Regions from separate parts of the Homo sapiens genome. Here all the other regions are linked to region 1. Evidence: promoter capture Hi-C in 16 types of primary human blood cells and fetal thymus (Javierre and others, 2016). All regions are on one chromosome and are shown on one strand. The core of a region is centred on a gene start or on the middle of the fragment in contact, and the rest is flanking DNA. Distances in the headings are between cores, read along the strand shown. Region 1 holds the start of CHSY3 (chondroitin sulfate synthase 3). Region 2 holds the start of CDC42SE2 (CDC42 small effector 2). Region 3 overlaps CDC42SE2 (CDC42 small effector 2). Region 4 has its middle 87 kb from the start of HINT1. Region 5 holds the start of HINT1 (histidine triad nucleotide binding protein 1). Region 6 overlaps RAPGEF6 (Rap guanine nucleotide exchange factor 6).

Evidence for each region. The method cuts DNA at HindIII sites, captures the fragments that hold promoters and counts their contacts. A CHiCAGO score of 5 or more calls a contact.
Region 2: a contact is called between a fragment that was not itself captured here and the fragment with the promoter of CHSY3 in region 1, in 1 of 17 cell types (erythroblasts). The highest score is 9.0, in erythroblasts.
Region 3: a fragment that was not itself captured here is called in contact with the fragment with the promoter of CHSY3 in region 1 in 2 of 17 cell types (erythroblasts and megakaryocytes); the score reaches 7.5 in erythroblasts.
Region 4: a contact is called between a fragment that was not itself captured here and the fragment with the promoter of CHSY3 in region 1, in 1 of 17 cell types (erythroblasts). The highest score is 5.0, in erythroblasts.
Region 5: a contact is called between the fragment with the promoter of HINT1 here and the fragment with the promoter of CHSY3 in region 1, in 2 of 17 cell types (megakaryocytes and erythroblasts). The highest score is 6.8, in megakaryocytes.
Region 6: a fragment that was not itself captured here is called in contact with the fragment with the promoter of CHSY3 in region 1 in 1 of 17 cell types (megakaryocytes); the score reaches 5.9 in megakaryocytes.

What each region holds. Positions count from the first base shown.
Region 1 is chr5:129,903,017-129,905,764 of GRCh38, reverse strand. CHSY3 (chondroitin sulfate synthase 3) reads right to left here and starts at 1,300. Exons shown (of 3, transcript NM_175856.5): 1 at 134-1,300. The coding sequence starts at 935. The region is part of intron 1 of CHSY3-AS1 (CHSY3 antisense RNA 1); the gene reads left to right. RefSeq lists a silencer at 933-1,142. The HindIII fragment of the contact is 4,826 bases long and covers 1-2,748 here.
Region 2 is chr5:131,263,978-131,266,677 of GRCh38, reverse strand. CDC42SE2 (CDC42 small effector 2) reads right to left here and starts at 2,625. Exons shown (of 5, transcript NM_001375635.1): 1 at 2,512-2,625. RefSeq lists an enhancer at 1,346-2,163 and a silencer at 2,362-2,700. The HindIII fragment of the contact is 696 bases long and covers 941-1,636 here.
Region 3 is chr5:131,381,013-131,383,712 of GRCh38, reverse strand. All of the region lies in intron 3 of CDC42SE2 (CDC42 small effector 2), which reads right to left. Among named protein-coding and RNA genes, the nearest start is that of CDC42SE2, 120 kb to the right of the region's middle. The HindIII fragment of the contact is 735 bases long and covers 965-1,699 here.
Region 4 is chr5:131,076,635-131,079,334 of GRCh38, reverse strand. No RefSeq gene overlaps it. Among named protein-coding and RNA genes, the nearest start is that of HINT1, 87 kb to the left of the region's middle. The HindIII fragment of the contact is 2,760 bases long and covers 1-2,700 here.
Region 5 is chr5:131,163,922-131,166,621 of GRCh38, reverse strand. It overlaps HINT1 (histidine triad nucleotide binding protein 1), which reads left to right and starts at 1,366. Exons shown (of 3, transcript NM_005340.7): 1 at 1,366-1,527. The coding sequence starts at 1,417. RefSeq lists enhancers at 997-1,046, 1,317-1,976, 1,977-2,637 and silencers at 1,197-1,246, 1,257-1,336, 1,547-2,186. The HindIII fragment of the contact is 11,885 bases long and covers 1-2,700 here.
Region 6 is chr5:131,434,957-131,437,656 of GRCh38, reverse strand. The region is part of intron 24 of RAPGEF6 (Rap guanine nucleotide exchange factor 6); the gene reads left to right. Among named protein-coding and RNA genes, the nearest start is that of CDC42SE2, 170 kb to the right of the region's middle. The HindIII fragment of the contact is 907 bases long and covers 885-1,791 here.

The sequences.
Region 1 (2,748 bases), core at 51-2,550:
GGCCAGGGCCTGTGGGAGCCCGAAGCACGTGCTGGCAGAGAAGCAGCGGAGGGGCTGGGCAGGGGCTAGGACCGGTTACAGAGAAAGGAGTCGGGGAGACTGGCAGGCTGGAAAGCCGGCGCAGGGAGGTCACCTTTGATGTAGACATCGTCGTCGGCGCGCATGAACCACTCATACTTGTCCAGGTAGTGGTCGTGCATGTACTTGATCATCATGAAGGACTTTTTCTGGGGAGGATAGGAGTCGTCCACACCCGGTAGCGCGATGACAGGCAGGGGTGGCGGGGGCTGGCCGGCGTTGGGGGGCTGCTGGCTGGAAAAGAACTCCACGCGGCCCGGGATGAAACGCGCCCAGGTCCGCTGCGCGGCCAGCGCGCGGCTGCCCAGGTACTTCTGCGCGGTCATCACCCCCACGTACAGGAAGTCCCGGGGTCGGGCGCTCGGGGCGGCAGCGCCCCCGTCCCCGCTGCCGTTGTGGCTACTCCCCGGCCGGCCGTCTCTCCGCTGCCCAGCCGCGCCCCCGTCCTCCTCCTCGGGCTCCCCCTCGGCCGCTGGAGCACCGGGAAGCCCCGTCGCGCCCTCAGGCTCGCGTCCTCGCCGCCGCTGCTGCAGCGGAGGTGGCTGCTGCCAGGGGCTGCTTCGAAAACTGGTGATCCCGGGTGCTGCCTCGGGCAGCGGTGGCCCCTGGAGATCCTGGCGCGCGGGGGGCGGCGACTGCTCCTGCCGTGGTCGGGACTGGGGCTGGGGGAGCGGCTGCTGAGCGCCGGCGCGGGGGCCAGCAGCAGAGCGACCGTAGTAGGAGCAGAGGCTGGAGCCACGTCTCTTCCTCTCGCTCAGCTCCGCCACCCTGGGGGCGATGAGCCAGGACGCGGCGGTGAAGCCCAGCACCAGCCCTAATGCCACGCTCATCCACGGGCGGCGAGAGCGCACAGCCATCGCGGCTGTCCCGGGCGCGGACGCTCGCTGGGCTGTCGCGGCGCGGCACGCGGTTTCCCCGGCTCACACCCGCCCCTCCTCCGCCTTTGCGCCCCCAGCCGCGGCCGCAGCCGGCCGCCTAGGCGCCGACACCGGCTGGAGGTCGAAGCGCCGCGGACGCCTCGACTGCCGCGGGCTGCAGCTGCCTGCCGGGCTCCCGCTCAGCTCTGGGCCGGGGCTCCGAGCAAGGGTCGGGAGTGAAACTTCTCCCGGCGGCGGCGGTGGCGGCAGCGGCGGCAGCAGCGGCAGCTGGAGGAGCTGCAGGAGGAGGAGGAGGAGCAGCGGCGGCGGCAACGCGTCCGCTCCTAGGCTGCCACCCTGTCAGTGGCGCGCCTGGGCCCTCCCTCCTCCCTCCTTCCCGAGCCCCCGCCCTCACTCCCGCCTCCCGCTCCCCCCGCCGCCGGGCTCCGAGCTGGCCCGGAGGAGGAGCCGCAGGCGGCACCGCTGCCAGCCGGAGAGAAGCGCGGGCCGCGGTATTTCCCCGTCACCCGCCCTTGGACGCCCCCCGTCCGCGCCTCAGTCCAGAGCCGGCCTCCTCTCCGGAAGGAAACGATCCCTGTCGGGCCGCCTCCGGCTTGCAGCGCCGACGCCCCCTCTTCCCTCCTCCCCCAGCTCTTGCTCTTCGTCCCATTTCCCGTCCCGTCCCGCCCCTCCGCTGGCCTCCCGACACTCGTGTCTGGGGGCTCTACTGGCCTCCTCCCGGCGCCTAGGCTCCGCTGACCTCATCGGCGGAGCTCGGGTCCGGGAGCCCCCAGCAAGTTCGTTGCTGTCCCACCGTGCTCTCCTCCCCCGGCCCACAGCCGGGTACGTCCTGGCGTGACCCTTACCACTCTGCCCCGCCCCAGGTCCGCCAGGGCGCCACTCTTCGCGTTTTCCGTCCTTTCCACGTTGTTCTTACCGCTGCCACTCCGCGCCTTCTCTCTCTAGTCGGTCACTTGTCAGGAAACCAAACGTCCCATCCCAGCACCTCTCCTCCCAGCCTAACTTCCCTCCTACCTGCATCGTCCACCAGCTCTCCTCAGTCCTTCACAGAAGCACCATTGTCGTTAGGGTCTCTCCTAAGAAAATCTCTGAGGGATTGGAAATACTTATCCTGAAAGGCTAAGGGAGTTGGTGGTGTGTGGGGGTTCAATCCCCAAAGAACGTAAAAATCCCATGTCCTCCACCTGTTGAGTTGGAAAATGTGGGGCTGCCTAATGGTCTCCCCCTCGGCTCTCCTGATGATATCTGTTCAAGAAATGAGAACTATGGTCTATTTTCAGTCTTGGTAGAAGATTGGCTCAGTGGGACTGGCAAATAGTGGAGAAATGGGCACACATTCACAGGGCCAATACCCTGAAGATCCAAACGAAAGAAATTCTTACCCCCACAAAATAAGTGAACTTAATCAAAAAATAAAATGGAGGATATGATTTTTATTCTTGCCTATGAACCGTTTTATTTTCTAAGGCAAAGACAGGAAAATTTTACCTCTCCAATGAGGGAGGAAAATTGTCCAGCAACAGAATCTCAAAAAAAGTTAAGCTGTATTGGCCAAAATCATTGTGCCTTAGTTACGTTAGGAAGAAATTACCTGAAGGTATATGATTTTTGAAGAAGGGAGCATTAACAAATTTCTCTCTAAAGGTTGTGCATAAAGCTATAGTCTGGGGTGCATTTGGCATCCCAAGTACTTCCTTCTCTTCAAATTTCAGTCTTCTGTTTTAGACATCAAACGCAAAGGGATGGTATTGAATGGCATTAGACATAATGGCTCGATCCAGCGAGGTGCTGG
Region 2 (2,700 bases), core at 39-2,538, 1.4 Mb before region 1:
GAGACCAGCCTGGCCAACACAGAGAAACCCCGTCTCTTTTTGAAAATACAAAAAATAGGGCATAGTGGCGCATGTCTGTAATCCCAGCTACATGGGAGGCTGAGGCATGAGAATAGCTCGAGCCCCAAAGGCGGAGGTTGCAGTAAGCCGAGATCACACCGCTGCACTCTAGCCTGGGTGACAGAGCGAGACTTCGTCTCGAAAAAAAAAAAAAAAAGAAAAAAAAAAGCTAATAGCCGGTAAGTCCAAAATCTGAAACTTCTATTTGAATGTAAACATTATCTTTAACAATGTATTAAGTATTATAAGCATTAACAGTCAAAACAGCCCACTTAAATACAAAAAAGCTAACTATAAAAAAATTAATATCTACATTATTTCATAATAATCAAGACAGACTTTGGATCACATTAGTCTGGATTCCTGAAATAAATAAAATATTACTGCTTTTTAAACATATATAAATAGATTAAAATAGGCAACGCAACCTTATGTTCAGAATAAATGCAAAACTACAAATCTCATCCTTTTAAATTAGTAGTTTTATCACAGTTGCAATACTAAAAGATAAGTCCACATATGGAACCACAAATTATTACTAATAATCCTTCCCTTTTTAGCACTATCAAGTTTATATGCATTTATTTGTAAGTGGTGAACACAAGGACAAAATAAAATTCCTGAAATGAAGCTTTATTTTAAAACATTTCTTATAGAAAAGGAATCTACTGTTTATCTCTGGGGATTTTTAAAAACAGAAAATGTTATTACAAAGATTATTTACAGAAAACAGGACCAGAAGTACATTACCCTTCAATACACTGTACCAAAGTCTCCTAATAGGGACCAGGGAGATAATAAAAACACTAGCTTATTAAATGTCTTCCTCCCTTCATTTTAAAATGTAGACAGATTCTATTAAACTGACAATATAAAAGCTTAACCCAATAATTTTAGCTGTACAAAGTTACTTATTAACCTTTAAAGGCTGTTATGAATTTACACTTCCTGCAGTTCACCTGCCATCTTTCCCAACTGAAATAGCCACTAGGGGTTTAAGACAGTCACCACTTGCGACATCAATAATAAGGAAATAACTTTGCATTCAAGTTTAAGAAAAGGATAATTGCGGATTTTGCCTGTGCCCATAAACAGGTGCTTAATGAATATCTGTTGAGTAAATGGTGACATTTTATTATATTAGTGCAACATTAGCTTTTCCCCCCCTAAATTTAGAGTTCTCCCTTGCTCAAAAAGCAGCAAGACCATACCACAGTCCCTTCTCAAAAACACATAAACTCCTTTATTCATAATGAAACAGAAAGCTGGGTTTCAAAATACAATCCCACTCCCTCTTTATCTTCTCCATTATTTTTAAAGATTAGAAATAAGGCCTGTTTTTAAGAAACAGAAAATGTATACCAACTTCTCTCAAACCAAAAGAGAAAATCCAAATTTGATATATATTTTCTATGTTCATAATATTGAGAGTAAGAACGGACTGTTCATCAACAGTATGTTATGTGGGACAAAAACTAAAAAACGTATATCAAAAATACATACTGTTTGCCGACATTCTTTCCTTAATCATAATCAAGGAGTATGTGCCTAAATTTTACTAGATGTGAGATAAGCTTTGTCTGATATTTCAAGATTCATTCATTCAACAAATACTTTACTGAGCACGTACTATAAGCCAGGCCCTTCAACGAAACATTTAGATTTTGTAAACTGCACATCACCCCCCAAAATTCCCCTAAAAAAGCTTATCATTTAAAATAATTGCAAGCTAAAGAGGAATCCCCAATGTTGTTTCTTACACATAGTGAAGTCAGCGGATCGGGGCGCTTTTTCAGCTGTTAATGCGGCATCAAGGAGCCGCTACCTACCACACCCGTTGCCTAAAATCGCAACTTAAAGCTGCAAGCACTGGGTAAAACAACCTGTAAGAGTAGCTCAGCTCCCGCGACGAGGTAGCCAAGGGCTTTCAAGCCCGGGGCCCGGGGCGAACCGCGGCAGGACCCGCGGACTGAACGCGTCGGGCGCCTCAGGCGAAGAGTCGGAGCTCCGGAGCCAGGTGTCTTTGCTCCCCGAAACCCTCACCTAGAGACCCCGGGCCCTCCCCGCCCGCCCCTCGCACCACCCTCCCGACTTCCAGACGTGAAAAGTTGGGGGGAGGGGGGGGGTCTGCCTTTCCATTTTACATCAGGCGGTCAGTTGGCTGCCTCAGCTGTCCGCCTGCCGTGAATTCTGAACTGAGCGTGTAACCATTCCTCAGAGGAAACAGAAGAAAAACCAAAGGCAGGGTCCTAGGGCATGAGGACCTCGCCCAAACCTGAAATGGAAGACGCAGGCTCAGCCCACAGCCCGCAGCGCGCGGCTGGCAAGGCCGGGCCGCGCTCACCCCAGAGCCCTCAGGGACGAGGGTTCGGGGCTTCGGGACCCCGCCCAAGGGACCGAGAGGGCGAGGCGTGGCGGCCGACGCGCGACTGGGGCTGGCATTGCACTCACCGTCGCCTTTGTCTCAGCCGCCCGCTCCGGCCGCAGCCCCTCTCAGCGCCGGCTCCGCGGCTCCTGCCGCCCCAACGCCTGCAGCTGCGCTCCCCAGCGCGCTCGCAGCTTCCTGGCTCCCCCTCCCCGCCCAGGCTCGCGCGCGGGTTGGGCGGAGCGAGAGGCGGCGCGCGCCCCTAGAGCGGCCGG
Region 3 (2,700 bases), core at 83-2,582, 1.5 Mb before region 1:
TACAAAAACAGGTGACAGGCTAGATTTAGCCTGTAAAAGTAGTAGTCTGCTGACCCCAGCTCTAGATTTTTTCAGTAGTAGCCACATAATTTCATTTTTTCCATTATGGTTATTTTTCAGAGGCTGTTATGACATGTCATTGCAACATTTTTTAATCTCTGAAAAAGTTGTATTATTATAGTTTTTCACTCTTTTCCCTAAAAACACTTAACTATATAAATTATAAGTCTATAACACTAGGGAACAAAGAACTCTCATTTCTTTATTTGAACAACTTTAGTTTTACTTCAAGCCTTTTTTTGAAAGTTGGTAAGAAACTGTCTGTCTTTTGGGGCCCTGTTCCACAGAATCATAAAACTTGCAGGTTAAAATGGTATCATAAAGTCAAAAGAGGCTTTTGTCTATGTGTTTTAATTTTTCTATTTCCTAGCACAATGCACTGGTTTCCTGCTATCTTTTTCTCGCATACTGCTCCCTCTGATGATCTTAGAGGTGCCTCATACAAAGACTCCCTGCCCCTAATGGCAGACTTGACACCCACAACCATCCTTTGATCTGGAGTGCTGCATGCCAGCAATGCACTGGTCTTTTCCTCTGTTCCCCATCTTTTTCACAGACTCAGTTTGTCTATTTCCAACCACCCCATTCAACATACTTCTCTTCATACTATTTTTGTTTGGAATGATAAAGCATAATTCTATGAATTAGCCTTAAACAATGCTAACTTATCTTTTTTAGGAATAAAGTAGGGAAAAAAGATGTTAACAGTTTTGTGCCTTTTTCTCTTCTTAATAATATATTATTACATTTCCACTAAATTTCCTTATTAGGAAGCTATTTGGGCAGGTCCAGAAATGTAATCTTTACCATCACAGGATACGAATTTTCTCAGCATGTGGGCAGGACAAATTATTGGGATTTCTTCCCCAGTGAGCCACTTAACTGACAGGTAGAGAGGGAAGCTTCTAGGTTCTTGTCACAGTTCCACAGGACAGTGGCATCTGCAGGACACCAGACTCTTCCCCAGGCGTTTGCAGTAAACATGTCAAGATAACTGCTTCTGATATGCAGAGAGAGCCACTTGGCTCTCTCAAGCAGGGGAGGAGGTGGTACCAGAGAATACTTCCTGGTACCTACTTCCAGACCACTAGGAGGAGTCTTGATCAACCCTTGTCCTGTGAACCTGCAGAAGCAACTCCTAACAGTTCTCATTCTGCATCATTTCCTCCAGAAGGGTGTGTTTAGAGCTTGCCAAAAGGCTCCACTTGGTCTATACCTCCATATTAAGTGATTTATTCTGTTGAGTTACTGCAGGACTGTGTTGGGGGAGAACAGAAACCATAGTGTGCTCAGGCCACCACCCATCTCACCCAAAAAGAATGAATAGATATGCTTGTGAAAGAAGGGTATTAACACATACTCACAAACAATAATTCAGCAAACATGATTACTGAGAATATTCAAAAGCTGATAACAAAACTAGTTCCCAAGAAGCTACTCTGACACTGAAAAGCAAAGGATGGGAAGACTTCAGCTTACTTCTATCATACTGTGTTATTAGATAACTAATATATATGAATGTGAAAATAATAGTGAGTATTTTTCAGCTTGAACTATACTGAGCTGGGAGTCACACCTTAGTATTGGAAGGTTTCTTCATGGCATCTAATCTAACAGTTTGTGAGATATGAAAGAAGCTTTCAGTCCTTCGCTCCCCAAGGCTGAGGGAACTCAGCTGTCCAGAAACTGAAAGGAGCAACTGTGTTGTGCGAGCATAGTAAAGGTAAACACCTAAGATGAAAATAGTAAGATAAGCAAGAACCAGATCACATAGAGTTTGTAAAGGACTGAAGTGTGTGATCCTCCCAAGAACAATGGGAAATAATTGAAAGTGTTTTAAAGCAGAGGAATAACATGATTAAATAGCTTGAGAAGACTATTCCACAATAGCTATAGGTGGAAAACATGTTAGAAGAGGTCAAAATAAGTTATTAATGTTGGTGAAAAGGGATTATGTGGATTCAACTAATAACACAGATAGAAGTGGATAGATTCAAGAAGTAGTCAGTGGATAAAATCAACAGCATTTGGGCCGGATGTGGTGGCTCACGCCTGTAATCCCAGCACTTTGGGAGGCCGAGGCGGGTGGATCACCTGAGGTCAAGAGTTCGAGACCAGCCTGGCCAACACAGTGAAACCCCGTCTCTACCAAAAATACAAAAATTAGCCAGGCGTGGTAGCAGGTGCCTTAATCCCAGCTACTTGGGAGGCAGAGACAGGAGAATCGTTTGAACCCAGGAGGCGGAGGTTGCAGTGAGCCGAGATCGAGCCATTGCACTCAGGCCTGGGGGACAAGAGCGAGACTTCTCTCAAAAAAACAAAAAAAAAAACAAAAAAAAACAGCACTTGGTTGCAGGCTGGATTTGGTAACAGTGAGAGGGAGGAGTTAAGAAATATGCACAGACTTCAGATTTCAGCAGAGAGTGTGCAATTCACTGGGTTCTGAGAGAATCCAAACTGGAGATAAGAGACTGAGAATCACCAGCATTAACAAAGCCAAGTTAATGAGATTTCCTAGACAAACTAAATTTCTGTGGTTGGGCAGAGAAGAAGCCATCAAAGAAGGCCAAAAAGAAACAGCCTGAAAGTCAGTAGGAAAATCAGCAGTGTGTACAAGTGTCAAGAGGGAGCAGAGCTGAA
Region 4 (2,700 bases), core at 130-2,629, 1.2 Mb before region 1:
TTTACATGTCAGACTGGAATTTGTAAGTCAACAGGCCTGCTTTAAAGGAAAAGAAAATAAAATCCTTAACATAAAAGCAGTAGTCTATGGACAATTCAGAATAAGAATTATCATTTGACTACTAGTCTAGCGTTTAATCACTTGCCTGTTAATATTAGTAACATCCAGAGTATCCACATTATGGTTGTGTATGCTATTAGGACATAAATATGAAGAGTAAACGAGGCTTTGAGACTATAATTGATGCCTTCAAGTCCCAGAATTGGATAGGTGTTCATTTCCCTCAGACTCTCTGTATATGCTATTTCCTCTCCCTGGGATACCATTCCCCCATTAAATGAGACTCTGGCAGGGGATGGGGGCAGGCAGGAATCTGTATTCTCCAATAAGTTCCCTAAGTGATTCTGATAATAAACAGGGTTCTGGAACTATTGGATGACACATGGTTTTCTTTTATTACCCCTGACCCCCAACACAGGGTTTTTGGGTCCTTAGCCCCTTCTCTACAATTCCTTTATCTTATTACTTACCATATTGCACCATGGTGACATCTAATGACCTATGCCTTTGAATTTTGTGAGGGCAGGGCCTCTATCGTAACCCCAGTTATTTGTTTTAATGCACAGTAAAGTGATTATGTCCTGGTTTGATCAGAATAGTCCTAGTTTATGCCAGTGTTCCCAGCACAAACTCCCTTCACTCCCACAGCCCCCTGGTTGTGATGATAAATTATGATTACCCTGGTTATGAGAATCTTTTGTCAAATCCTTCATAAGAGCTTAAAGATTTTTAGTCACTCATGAAATAATTCTACTGTTTTCCCTGAAGCAGGTATAATTAACAGACTGTGACTGTTGTTTATTATTTTTAATTTGCCTATTATTGTAACTTATTAAACCAAGGTTTGTGTGTCCCTTTCCCAGAAGATAAACAACACTAAAATGGAGAAATATAAATCTTGCTGAATCCTAGCATTTTTTTTTGTATGTTGTACTGGCTTGACTTTGATCTATTGAAAAATAAGAAAATAAAAGAGCCCTATCCATTAGTGCCTCAAATTAGGTAACAAATTTGTGATAGGATATAACCATTAAACTTTTACTAAATGTTGTAATAGGATTAGAACATAGACTCATCATGTCTGCCCAAGGAGACATAACATTAACCTAACCTAACCTAACAAAAATTAACATTGCCAAAATGCCTTGTGTCCCTGAAGCCCTTTACCTGGTTGTGACCACATGGCTTGACTAAGATTTTAAGCAAATCTCTCTCATTGTTTTTATAACCAGTTGAGCTCTTCTAGGTTGGGGACCCAGAGAACTCTGGCAGTAAGCAGTCCTACCTATAGCAGAGGGCAAGCAAACATTTGAGTATTTTTTTGGCATTGTGTCGGAGAGGATATAAAGGGATGGTATACCTGTTTCCGGCTCTTAGAGTCTGAAGTGTCCATCTAATTGTGACTAAAGACGAAAGTGATTTCTAACATTGGCAGATTATAAAACAAATGATATATAGTAGAAAATGTAATACAGAGTTATCAAATGAATGAATGAAGAGTCACCACCAATGTATGACTTTATATATTCTGTCTGGGTAAAAAAATAAAAGTGTAAAGTATAAAAACAGCAACAACAAAAAACCACCCCTCTCTCGCATTTTTGTCCTGAAAGCCTTAGTACATTCATGGGTATAGAATAAAAGAATGGAAAGAAATTTGGTAATTTTGATATTCAGTCAACCTAATTATGGTGAACAGATGTTCTAAAACCTATTTGTAGGTTTAAGCAAAATTAACATGATATTCTATGAGAGCATTTTATTTCATAGAATGATTATGCTTGATGAAAAAGGGTTGTCTTTTTTTCTTCTTAGCTTTCACACTAAATAGAAACTGAAAGTGATAATAGAAGTTGAAAAAAATTAAACAAAGGATCTCATATTTAGTGTTAAGAAAATCAAAATTATTGAAAAGTTGGTTACAAACCAAGCCTCATTATCTATTTTCATTTTCAAGGTGCGGTCAGTTGCCCTACAGAGATAATATGTTACTTGGCATGCTAGTGATATGTATAAATTAATATAGCTTCCCAACGTGCTCAACTTCTTCAATATATTACCTTGAAACATCTGGATAGAAACTTGGTCTTTTAATCTACATGACAATAAGTACTAAATTTGTAGGATGAGGAAAAAAACCTAGATGTGTAGGTTTATTTGGTTTCTGTTACTAAATTTTGGTATGATTTGGCAAGACACTTAACTTTTTTGAGCTTCAATTGCTGAGCCTATAAATGTAAGGGGTTGGTATAGGTGATGTTTGACATTGTAAAAAATTCAAACTAGCAGATAGGAAGACAGCTGTAGGACTAAATTGGCTGATTATACTAGCATGGACTCACTACAATCACATAGAAATGTTTGAAAAACTACAATAAAAAATTAAATCCATAGCAAAGCTAAAAACAAATAAATATAATTCCCAAGGAAATGAATAGGGAAAAGATAGTTGGAATGAAAAGTGCAGGAGCTGTCTCTCTGGCTACCCATGTGGTTGGAGGACCCAAATACAGGCTTTGGAAATGAGAGGCTACAATTTTATCACACCCTCCTGGACAGAAGATGTGTTGTTAGAACCTCACAAAGCTGGGGCCTAACCCTTAGATCTCTCCATAAAACAAGGACTTAGAAATATCAGTC
Region 5 (2,700 bases), core at 117-2,616, 1.3 Mb before region 1:
AACTTGTAGGGCCCCACCCCAGATCAACTGATTTTGACAATTTTTCTGTGGTTATGAAAGGAAATTAACATGACTTCAAAACTATTATCTAATTTATAGGCATTATTTAGATTTTACGAATTGTCCCAGTAATGTCTTTGATAGCAAAAGTACCAAATGGACACTTTTGAGATTAAAGGCAACCACATTCAATAATTTTGCCAAGACAAGGGTAGTAATGTAATCATAAAAGGCAGCTGAGCTCACATCTGTAATCCCAGCACTTTGGGAGGCTGAGGCGGGTGGAACACCTGAGGTCAGAAGTTTGAGAACAGCCTGGCCAGCATGGGGAAACCCTGTCTCTACTAAAAATACAAAAATTAGCCAGGTGTGGTGGTGCGCGCCTGTAGTCCTAGCTACTTGGGAGGCTGAGGCATGAGAATCACTCGAACTCGGGAGGCAGAGGTTGCAATGAGCCGAGATTGTGCCACTGCAGTCGAGCCTGGGCGACAGAGCAAGAATCTATCTAAAAAAAAAAAAGGCATTGAGGAGGTATACTTTTTCTTAATACGTACACTTAGAGGTCTGGTATGATAACTGTAATTGTCTATAGGATTTTATAAATGGATGTCCTTAGTGACCTTGACAAGAGGGAAATGGACTCAAAAATGAAAGATAAGAAAGCAGACATGGTATGTAGAAAACTTCTTTATAAAACGAGCAAAGATACGGAGGGGGATGTGGGATTAAGGAAGGTTTTTTTTTTTAAAGTGGGTCATTTTATTAATACATTATGTTGATTGCTGCTGGGAAAAATTCTTTGCAGAGCAGTCTAGGGAGGTTTACAAACTACTGATGCCTGGGGCTCATCTCCAAAGATTCTTATTTAATGGATCTGGGCTGCAGCCAGGTTCACGGGGATTTTTAAAAGCTCCCCAAGTGATCTTAATGTGTAGTCAAGATTGAGAACCACTGGTAGAGAGAGAAAAAAACTCTGTTGAAGAGAGGACTTAAAATCTGCTGCAGCAGCAAGACCTTAAATAATCTAAGTGCTAAGTTGCAGCCAGCACCACTTAAATTATCAAATCTTGTCAGTTACAGTATCCAACTTTCCCTACAAGCATCCATAGGCAGACGAAGGGTTTATACCAGTAACTGCATTCCCCAGGAGACAAGAAAGGAGGATAGAAAAACGACTTAGGAATCTCCTTGGAGCTCAAGACCAGGAACTTCCCCAAGCCGGAGGTCCCTGAGGCGCTCTAGCGCGCTGGCCGCACTCGCAGCCCAGGTCGCCAGTGCGCACGCGCAAGATTAGGTGGGGCGCCAGAGCCGGGGCACCTGCGCAGGCTTGGCTGCGCCCTCTCGCGCCGCACGCTCTGCGGGTTCCTCCCTTCTTCCGAGCCTCTCCTCTGGCCGCCGCGCGGGAGAGAGGCCGAGATGGCAGATGAGATTGCCAAGGCTCAGGTCGCTCGGCCTGGTGGCGACACGATCTTTGGGAAGATCATCCGCAAGGAAATACCAGCCAAAATCATTTTTGAGGATGACCGGGTAGGTACTGGGCACCACCTCTCTCGCCTGCTGAGGTGGGTATCGTCCGCGGATCCTCGGGTTTCTCGCGGAGGGAGAGGAGGGGTCGCGAGTGTAGCGGCGACGGGAGGGGACCTGGCTGCCCTGGTCCAGCGGGCCCCCAGCCAGCGGACAGGGCCCGGGCACTCCGAGGCGGCCTGCCGGCGCGTGCCGGCGCTCCGGTTACTCGTTATCTGCCCCGGGCGCGGGCCAGGCCGCCGGGCGCCCTGAGTGCCGCACCGCGGGGCCTGGGCGCGTGTCGGGGCGCACTGGGGCCCCCGCGTGGAAGCCCGCCGGTTCCCCGGCTGCCTCGGACCTTGCCTGTATCAGGAATCTCGAAATCTCGCCAGCGCTCTGCCTGACAGAGAGAAACCCGATCGCGCCCTGACTCAGGCCCAATCTCCGCGATCTCCCGCGCACAGCCGGCCTGCCAGGGCCCGGCGTTCCTGGGCGCTGCTCAGCAAGGCATTGTGCTCGAGGGCCCCAGGGGCGCTGGGAGGTGCGCGGGCCGTCTGGGCCTGCCGGCTTCCTCCGCGGGGTGCGGCTTGCCACCCTCACCCCTACCCCTATCCCTATCTCCACCCCAAGGCCTACCCTGGGCTAGCGAGGCGATCTCCTGAGATAAGAAGTGGGCCCGCGTCTGGGATTTGCTTTCCGTTGACCTCTCCCGCTGAACATTTTGGACTTACAAACAGCTGAATGATTCTTTTTGTATTCAACAGGAAGTAATTTTATGCCAAGAGACTAAGACTGTAGTTTTTGTTGACTTCTTGTAGGTGAAATCCCAGTTGATGTGACTTTGAGATATCTTGTGTAAATTATTTAGTGGCCAGTTGTATTTTTGGGATTGGATCTCAGATAAAGCTGGGCAGATTGGCTGATTTAGATAGAACAAATTTTGTAAACAGTTTTGTTAAATTTAGGAAATATAAAATCTAAGAAAAACATTTATTCTACTAATGTCGGTTAGATTCAAAACGTTATCAAAAATTTAATTAGGTTCCTCTAGGTAAATTAAAAAAAAAAATACTTTGTCTCTACTCAGGGGAAATTCTTTGGTTTTAGAAAAAATATTTCTTTTTAAAGTTCGCAGTTGCCTTTGAGAAATGGTTCTTGAAAAATTTACATTTGAACCACCGAAGTCCAACTGTAGAA
Region 6 (2,700 bases), core at 89-2,588, 1.5 Mb before region 1:
CAGATTTTGATCCTGTTGTAGCTCATATGTAATTTTGTGTGGCACACAGACCTATGTCATCACTTTCCTTGTCTGTATGGTCCTATCCAATGCGCCCCTTACCAGATCTTGCGATGTAGGATAAGCCGCAGTGCCTCCAGTCAGACAGATGGTCCAAATGAACAGTATCCATATGCTCCTAATGCTCGTTCAGGAACACCTTTACACTCCTTACCCCTGTTAGAGGCTGCTCAGTGGTCCATCCCATTATAGCTGATTTGGTATTTTATGCCTGAATGTGACTTCTGGAAAGTGGTATTAGAAACAGGAATTCCTCCATTGCTCTTATTCCCAACAAAATCTACACTCAACACTCGAATAGAGAAGTATTTTCTCCCTTTGTGAGAAAATTGTAGCCAACAATTGAACACCATGTTTATAGGTTTGTGAGCTTCTCGTAGTAATGTTTAGAATTCTTAGAAGCCTGAAGAAATTCTTCTCTTCAAAACTGTTTCAGCTTGTTCTTGCATGTGTACTATCAAAACCCCAACCAAGTATGATCCTTCTATTTTTGTAGACAGGTTTTTGCCAGTAACCTATGATTGAACAAAACTGTCATTATGCTCAGAGTAAATTATTAGGATCTGTTCCTGGTTCTTATTAAACTTGGAGATCTGTTCTTTGTTTTCTTATGATTAAGAAAATAAACCTGTCTTCATGTTTTGCATGAGGATAGTTTAAACAAGAACTTTAAAAAAGAAGTCAAAAGACCTTAAACATTATCTACCCTAGTGTTTAAGAAAAGCACTCTCCACCTTGGATCTACAACAGGATCAGAAAATGAACGTTATAAATATACCTATTGTATGTACTATTTATATGTCTTATTTGGTTTTTACTAAGCTTCTTCATAGTAAAATCTACCTTACAATTCTAGACCTACATAGTTACTTTACAGAAATAATTCTAGTTACCTGATATTTTTGTCATATTTTTCCTTATGATTTTACCAGCTTGGCTTCCTTTCAACAGTTTTTTTGTTTTTGTTTTTGTTTTTATTTTTATCACCAGCTTGTGCTGATAAAGGTAATCTTTCTCCTGCATTCTGTCTTGCAATAACTGATGTGTATATGTTTTATATATAAGTAGATTTTTTTCCATGCATTAAAAAATATGTTGCTAGATTTCAATTTTTCAGATATTATCAAGATGTTAGAATTTTTAAATAGTGAAATATTATGTAAACAAGGCTAATTGTGATTGACCATGTCAGGGTTTTTGCATCTCTCCCTCCAGTTGGCAGTATCATATCTGATCACAGCAGCAAGATCAGTGGCCAGAGCTGCCCCGGAATAGGTGGGGCTTACTTGCAAAAGAAAATCCTTCAGATTACCAGGAGCACAGCCAAAAGAACAGACAGTACTGAGAAGGCCACTGAGGAGAATAGAGACAGGACAAGTTGTGAGAACACAACCAGAAAAAGAATGACATCCCCGTTTAGAAGACTTAGGGAAAGAATGCTTTCAAGGGAGAGACTAGTCAACAGCCAAAAAGAGGACACAGATCACAATCAAGCTACAGAAAGCTGTGAGAAAGTGAAGGATGTTGGAAGCAACATCAAAGATGAGAAAGGGAGTGCCATCTTCAATTCAAATAGCCAAGGCAACAGTAACACTTTAAACTGCTTCTATACGCGATTCAAGTCTAAAAGGAGGAAGACACTCTGATGAAGTTCCTTATTTAATTTTAGTGTTAAGTTTGTTTTCAGTTATTAATGTATACATGGCTTAAATTAAACCATTTGTCAAAGCTTAGGCAGACAACTTAGTAAAATACTATTTATAAACACTTGAAAATGCCTCATTTGTACATAAGTTATTTTACTGATGTATTGAGTTAGTAAATTTTATACTCTTGTTTTCTGTAGTTGACTTTATTTCCTACTGTTAGCTGGATCTGTGAGTGAAATATGTAGAGGAGGCTTTTTTATCTTCTACTTTTTACGTATCTTTGATTGGGGGAGAAGGGACTAGTCTAACATAGCAATATCAGAATCATCTGGGAAACTTGTTAAAAAATGCAATTACTGTGTCCCACCCCAGACTTCATAAACTTGAATTGCCAGAAATGGGATCTGGAATGTTTATTTTAATTGGCTTGCCAGGTGGTTCTTAGTATTATTATATTTGAGAAATACTGATCAAATAGACATAAGAATGAAATTATTTTTTAAACAATGAAGCAAGATTATTGTGTAGAGCAATGACTTTTTCTTTTCAAGAAGAAGGTTTTTATTTATTTTTAATTTACTTATTACATCCACTTTCTTGGTCCTCTTAAAAATTGACTAATCAGCTCATGGACATTGACAAATAGCAGTGATCCCAAGTTCAGAGATGTATGATAGACGTCAGAAGACTGGCTTGTCTTGGCTTACCCTGTTCCTGTCCACGTAGGCCAAATATAAATCACACATTTTCTAGGCCTTTTTCTCTTTGAAATAGTTAACGAAACGACTTAATAAGATTACTGTGCAACAAATTATTCCTTAAATGACTTGAGTTATATGTGAATAACTCCAAGATCCATAAACAGAGAAAGACTTGGAACTAAGGATGTTGTCATCCTCTTTCTGCATGAAGATGAGGCCCTGAGAATTCCAGTAACATACCCAAAGCCTGTAATTCTTCCTAATGACATTTCTAGGTATTGGTCCAAAGG